2 separate regions of the Homo sapiens genome follow, and region 2 is linked to region 1. Evidence: promoter capture Hi-C in 16 types of primary human blood cells and fetal thymus (Javierre and others, 2016). All regions are on one chromosome and are shown on one strand. The core of a region is centred on a gene start or on the middle of the fragment in contact, and the rest is flanking DNA. Distances in the headings are between cores, read along the strand shown. Region 1 holds the start of OR6V1 (olfactory receptor family 6 subfamily V member 1). Region 2 has its middle 100 kb from the start of PRSS1.

Evidence for each region. The method cuts DNA at HindIII sites, captures the fragments that hold promoters and counts their contacts. A CHiCAGO score of 5 or more calls a contact.
Region 2: a fragment that was not itself captured here is called in contact with the fragment with the promoter of OR6V1 in region 1 in 1 of 17 cell types (total B cells); the score reaches 5.4 in total B cells.

Annotation. Positions count from the first base shown.
Region 1 is chr7:143,050,981-143,054,538 of GRCh38, reverse strand. It overlaps OR6V1 (olfactory receptor family 6 subfamily V member 1), which reads right to left and starts at 2,198. Exons shown (of 1, transcript NM_001001667.1): 1 at 1,257-2,198. The coding sequence starts at 2,198. The coding sequence ends at 1,257. The HindIII fragment of the contact is 11,126 bases long and covers 1-3,558 here.
Region 2 is chr7:142,643,993-142,647,340 of GRCh38, reverse strand. It overlaps TRB and the pseudogene TRBV23-1. Among named protein-coding and RNA genes, the nearest start is that of PRSS1, 100 kb to the left of the region's middle. The HindIII fragment of the contact is 274 bases long and covers 1,529-1,802 here.

The DNA of each region.
Region 1 (3,558 bases), core at 949-3,448:
GATTTTAAAAATTTCAGGCTATAGTTGGAGGAGGGAGGACAGTGGAGCTGATGTTTAACTCCAAAGGCAGCATGGGACATAATAGATTTTCAAGAATTTTATACCCACACGTATGTGAATGTAATATAATGTTCATATTTTATGTAATGTACAATATAATATGTATGTGTGTAAAATAGGATATATAATCACTGAATAAGTGAACTTACTAGGTTTATTACAATCCCTTGCCTTTAGGCAAATGAATGTTTCTAATCATACAGGAGCAAAGTTTATTTTGTCTTTCTAAAACTCTGAATATTTCCTCTCTGGAAACCACATAATTCCTCACTAGCGGAGATTTATCTTGTTTTAATTTCTCTCTGTTTCATCTTTCTCTGATGCAAAGGTACCTGATGAATTGCACTCTCACAGTGTCCACCTTATAGTCAATGTGCTACTCAGGTGTCATCTTGTCAGGAAGCCGTCGCTGAGCCTCCTCCTGGTCTCAGTGTTGCTCCCCTGTGTGCTCATAATACCGTCTGTGAATCCACTGTTGCACGTTCCCCACTGTGCTGGAAACAGCTATTTATCACTTTTTCCTTCCTTAGGCCAAGAGCTTTGTCAGGTTAAGAACCATTTATGCCTTTTTTACCTTTCTACCCTCTACCTGTTACAGTGCCTGACACACACAGCCTACTCAATGTTGAAGAAATGAATGAATAAATGGATGAATAATTATACAAGGACCCAGTCCTCCTCCCAACACTCACACACACATTGAAAAACAATCAGTTTGTTTTTGGTAAGTTTTGCTTCTTCTCTTGATCCCATGTAGCCCAAGCACTTATGGTGCATACACTCAGCAGCAGTGCATACTGTGATAGAGAAGCACACCCGGAACATGCACACGCATACACACATATGTACACACATACACACCCATGCACACATACTGGGATTGGACACTACCTCTTGATCATAGAGCACTTCTTGGCTGCTCTTCCTTAAATGCAAAGCACATGCACTTCCCTTTACTGAAAGCTCTGGGCTACTCTCAGAGTTCTTACGGCTGCCAGGGGATGTAGGGAACTCTTCCATGGTGGTCCATAAGAGCTTTGGGCCAGACAGTGCAGCACTCAGGGCTCACTGTAGTTATTGCTCAGAGGGAAAAAAACTAAAGAAACTCAGCAGTGTTCTTCCCACTTGCTGGAGGTCTCCCTCCCCACAGAACTGCTCAATGGAGGCAGGCCAGGTTCCCCTGGGCCCTGGGCTCATCATTGTGCCTTGCAAAGGCCTTTCAGCCTCTGCATCTGCCCCTGTAGCACTGTTTTAACTGTCTGATTGCAGAAGGTAAGGATAAAGGGATTGAGAAAGGGGGTGAGAACTGAAGTCACCAAGGCCACGACCTTCCTGACTTGCACAGAGTGAGCTTTGCCAGGCCTGACATACAGAAAGATGGTACTACTGTAGCCGATGAAGACCAGTGTGAGGTGAGACCCGCAAGTGGAGAAAGCCTTCTGGCAGCTGCTGGCAGAGGGGATCCGCAGCACAGTGGTCACTATGTAGCCATAGGAGATGAGGGTCACCAGGAAGGAGCTGAGGACAAAGGTCAAGGCCATCAGAAAGTCCCAGAATTCCAACAGGCGAGTGTCAGAGCATGACAACTGCAGGAGAGGTTCATTGTCACAGAAGAAGTGGTTGATGACGTCGCCATGGCAGTAATCAAGATGAGCTCGGGAGAGGACAGTGGGTACCATGGCTAGGAAAGGAGCTGCCCAGGCAGCCCCAGCCAGCTGGACACACATAGCCCGGCTCATCAGAGTGCCATAGCGCAGTGGGTGGCAGATGGCCACAAAGCGATCAAGGGCCATGTCTGTCAGGATGAGGAAGGAGGTGGACCCCAGGGAAAAGTGGAAGTAGAACTGGACCATGCAGCCAGTGAAGGTAATGACTTTGTGGGGGACCAACAGGTCTGAGAGCATCCTGGGCACTGCAGTCATGGTTACCAAGATCTCCAGCAGGGAAAAATTGCCCAGGAAGAAGTACATGGGTGTATGTAGGTGGGTGTCAGCTATGACCATAACTATGATGATGGTGTTTCCCATGAAGGCGAGAAGATAAAGCATGAGGAAGGGGCCATACAGAAGGGCCTGCAGCTCACCAAAGGAGGAGAAGCCCAAGAGGACAAATTCGGAGGGCTGGCTCAGATTTGCCATGATCCACAGTATGGGGCCCTGCATGCAAGAGAAACAAAAGACAGACGGAGAGGCAGAAACAGAGAGATAGAGACAGAGAACCATTGAACTTGAAACAGAAGAAACAGGGACAGAGACAGAGAATAGAGAGAGAAAGGCAAGTAGCCAGCGAGTGATAAACAGAAAAGCAGAAAGAAACGGCAATAAAGAAAGATAACAAAACAGGAATGGGAGAGTCAAGGAGAAACAGAGTGAGGGTATGAGAGAAGTGAAAGACATAGAAAGCCATTATTAAGAAGAGAGAAGGCTGGGGATGGTGGTTCATGCCTGTAATCCCAGCACTTTGGGAGGCCGAGGCAGGGGGAACACTTGAGGTCAGGAGTTCAAGACCAGCCTGGCCAACATGGTGAAACCCTGTCTCTACTAAAAATACAAAAATAAGCCAGGTGCAGGCAACTGTAATCTCAGCTACCTGCAAAACTGAGGCATGAGAATCGCTTGAACCTGGGAGGTGGAGGTTGCAGTGAGCCGAAATCGTGCCACTGCACTCCAGCCTGGGTGACAGAGTGAGACTCCATCTCAAAAAAGAAAAAAAAAAAGGGGGGGAAGAAAGAAAAACAGAGGAAAAGATTAAGGAAGACCACATGGCAACAGACATTGACATTTAGGGAGAAAACAAGAAGGAAACAACAGAGGACCAGAGAAAGAACAGAAAAAATTCAAATAGAGAAATACAGGAAGGGGAGGAACACAGAAAAAGAGAGGGAGAGAGAGCATTAGTGCATGTGACCCAGAAGCCCCCAAATGTAGGCTAATCCGTCTATGTCACACCCAGAGGTTGTGCCCCAAGACCCTTTTTAAAGGGTCCCTGCAAACCTTTCTGAGCTGCCTCTCTGAGGACCCTCGCTTGTGCACATTTCTCCGGCTATGATCATGAAATTAGTGAAAGTCAGAGTTTTGAGTCCAGAAATTAACTTCCTTTAGAGGAGACCTCTGCTTCGTGTTTGCAAAGATGGAGAGCAGAAAGGGTGCAGCAGGTCAGGGAGCGAGCCTGGAAATCCAAGTGGCTGCTCTCCCAGGACACACACAGTCATCAGGCTTCCCAACGGCATAATCTGTCTACCCAAGGGTGCTGCTTTGCCGTCTCCATTGCACTTCCCCTCCCGCCGTGGTGCAAAGTGTAAGCTATGGAGTTGGCTTGCCTGTGTTTGAATTCTGGCTCTAGACTTGCTTGTCACGGGCCGTAAATCTGCTCTTCTTTGTTACTTACTCTCTCTGAGCCCGTTTATTCAGCTGTAAAATAATGGTATTACTGGTACTTAGCCTCTATGGTGATTATAAAATTAAATAAGTAAACTACTTAGTGCAGTGACTAGCACAT
Region 2 (3,348 bases), core at 416-2,915, 410 kb after region 1:
CTGGATAAGGATTAAAGGAGATATTAGGATGTAGGAAAACACCCTATTCACTTTTATGTGGGATTGCAGATGTATACAGTGATCCTGAAGAACCCGTGGTGGTATTTAGATAGATAAAATATGCATAGAATTCCATGTCTCAGCAATCATGACTTGCTCTGGGTATATAATCCTATAAAGCAATCATACAAGTCTATGAAGGTATTTGTACAAGAATTTTCAATTCTGGCAGAAAACTGGAGAAAATCTGGCTATGTATTTCTGAAGAAATGGGTATGAGTACTCTCTATCATGTAGAAGCAACAAGACCAAATGTACTTACAGAAAAACGGAGCACTTCCCTTTCTTGAGCTGAGTGGAAAAGTAATATTTATGTGATTTTAAATATATACATACATGCCTACTGCTGAGTGCTCTGTGAGAAGGTTAATGGCTGGATCATGACTGATCTGTTTTTTTCTCTTGGGATTTTGAATTGAGGCTTAGAAAGAGCCAGCCTGGTATTTATCAGTGTAGGGAAATGATGGCAACTGAATTTGTAATCTTTAGTGACCATCTCATTCTCACCACGAGGCCTGGAGAAAAAGAGATGGTGTACAGGGAGAGAAAAGCATTCAGCAGCCAAAATTGAATAAAAATCAGCGCTGGAGAGATAGCCATTCTAGAGCCCAGCCCTAGTGGTGCCTTTTCAGAACTTCTATCACCTCTTGACTTCTGCTAAACACCCTTTATCCTTGTGTTAAATTACACTGTGGCTTAAGCTGGCTCCAGTTATTTTCTGTTACTCCCTTCCAGCCTAATACATCACCTGCTTCCTGAGCTGGGTCTGTGACAAGTTTGTGTGCTAAGAGGAACTGACATTTCAGTGCTGTGGATTGACTGCTGGCGCAGAGATACAGTGCCGTGTCTCCCGGTTCTGAGGACAGGATTGCCAGGCTGCAGGGTGCGTTCTTGGGGCATTGAGATGAGAATCGCTTCTTGTGCATCTCCGTTTCTTGAAGAACTTGTTCATTCTGAAAGGAAATCAAAAGCATAAACTCTTTATTCTGATTCTGTTGATACCAATAAACAAAAGTATGTCCTTTTTCGGGGGTACAATCCATCTTTGTTTTCTGTCCTTTTCCTTTGACCAAATGTCCTGGAGTCTGTGTGACTTTGGCATGAAAAGAGTCTGTAAGAGAAAGAAACAGATGCTGTAGAAAGAGTCCAGGAAAGAGCTTAACAAACAAAACAAAACAAAACAAAACAAAACAAAACAAAACAAAACAAAGCTTGGATCTGCTGGTTGGCAAGCCCAGGACAAGGATTTTTCTTTTGTGCTCAGGGCGCATCTGCTGCCAGGAGACACAGGGCTGCACAGCCGAGGAGCCTGGTGCCCATGATCGCATTGACGTTGCAAAGGGATGAGGCTTTTTCATCCCCTTTCTGCACCTTCTTGTGACGTGATCCCTCCACTGACTTATAATCATCATGTTATTGCTTCATGTTCCTGAGCAAAAACACTTCATAGTATCAGGGAAAAAAAGCTTTTATCCTAACTCAGGAAATATAACTCAGTTATTTTGTATTCATTTAAAAATATGTTATGTCTATTTTTGCTAATATAAGCAATACACTCATATTTTAGAAAGTTAGAAAATAAAATAACAAAATAAAAATATGATACCACTGCCAGAAAGCAATTATCACTGTTAACACCTTAGTGAGTCTTTCTAGATCCTTCTCTGCCCCATATATAAATGTGTAGATATATAGACACTTTTTTTAGTAAACAATATTCTTGAAATTCTGTTTGATAAGCTTTTTTTCAGTTAATGATCATCCTTTCTCATCGATGCATTTTCATCTTATCTACTATTTAGTTTTTATGCAAAGTTTCACAGTTGTTTCAAAAACGTCCTTTGCCATTAATTTGAGCATCAGTTTCTAACTCAAGACTGGACATTCCTTCTGGCTATTAGTTATCTAATTATCTTTTATATATTTCAGATCTCTGTTGTAATTGCTATCTTTATGATTCTGAAACTAGTGACTGCTTTGAAAAATACTTCACCTTCTAGCTCTTTCTGGTGTATTTTAGCTTGTTCATTTACTAGTGCTTCTTTTACATAACCTCCCTTTTTTGCTTTTTCTCTCTGTAACTATTTATTTTAAATTGTGCATTTTTTGATGATTTTTTTTTTCGCTTACTTTTCTCTTCCTCCATCTCATCCTCATTTCAGGTAAGTAATGTTAACAGCTTAATGTATATCTTTCCATAGATTTCTCCTTACTAATTTAATTGTTCAGTGAGGTTGTTTTCTCCACATTACAAAATGGACTTTGAATATATAGATAATAACTTGATAAAATACCAACAGAATGATCACTTAAAAAAACAACTTGGCACAGGAAATAAAAGATTACCAGAATATTTGAAAGCTCTTATTTCTTTTCCCAGATTCCATGCCTCTGTTCTCTAACTCTATTGAGGTGTTTGTTTTTGTAATTATTTGCTTCTCTTTTATATTTTAATGCATAGGCACATAAGCAAACAAAATAGTGTTTAGTTTTAGATGCTTTCAAACTTTACACAAACGAGACAATACTGTACCTTTCTTCTGCAATGTAATTTTTCATTCAAATTTGTGAAATTCATTCATGTTTGTGTGTTTAGTTTTAGTTCATGAATTTTCACTGCTGTGTAATTTCTTTTTAATAACCAGGATTTATTCTTCTCTTAAGTTACATTTGGATATTTTATACGTTTTTGCCATGACAGATGTATTACAGTGAATATTCTTGTCCTGATTTTCGTAGAAGGGTTTCTCTAGAAAAGCCTTTCTCAAGGGTGGAATTGATGGATAGTGGGTACACACATCTTGAACTTTACTAGATAATACCAAATTGTTTTCCAAACTGGATCTACCGATATACACTCTAGCCAGTGATTCAGAGAGTTCTTGTTGACACTTTGCCTTGCCAACACTTGATAGTTACTATTTTTATCATCGTAGCCATTCTTGTGGGTATATATTTCGTTGGACTCAATTTCTATTTCCCTGATTATTAAATATAGCCACATTTACATGTTTAATGACCAGTGAGATTTTGCTAGGTGCTTATGGTTTTCACTCACTTTTTCCATTGACAGTTACCTTTTTCTCATTGATCTGTAGAAAAATTAGTTTGTAGGTTTTTAAAAAATTTATATACTAGCTTTTCTTGAATATATAAATATAAATAGGGATATTAATTTGGTATAAATATATAGATATTTAATGATATGTCACTATACAGTCAATCTTGTCACTGTTACATAATTAACATTGATAAATTCAATATGTTAATTTTGATATAGCCATTTTT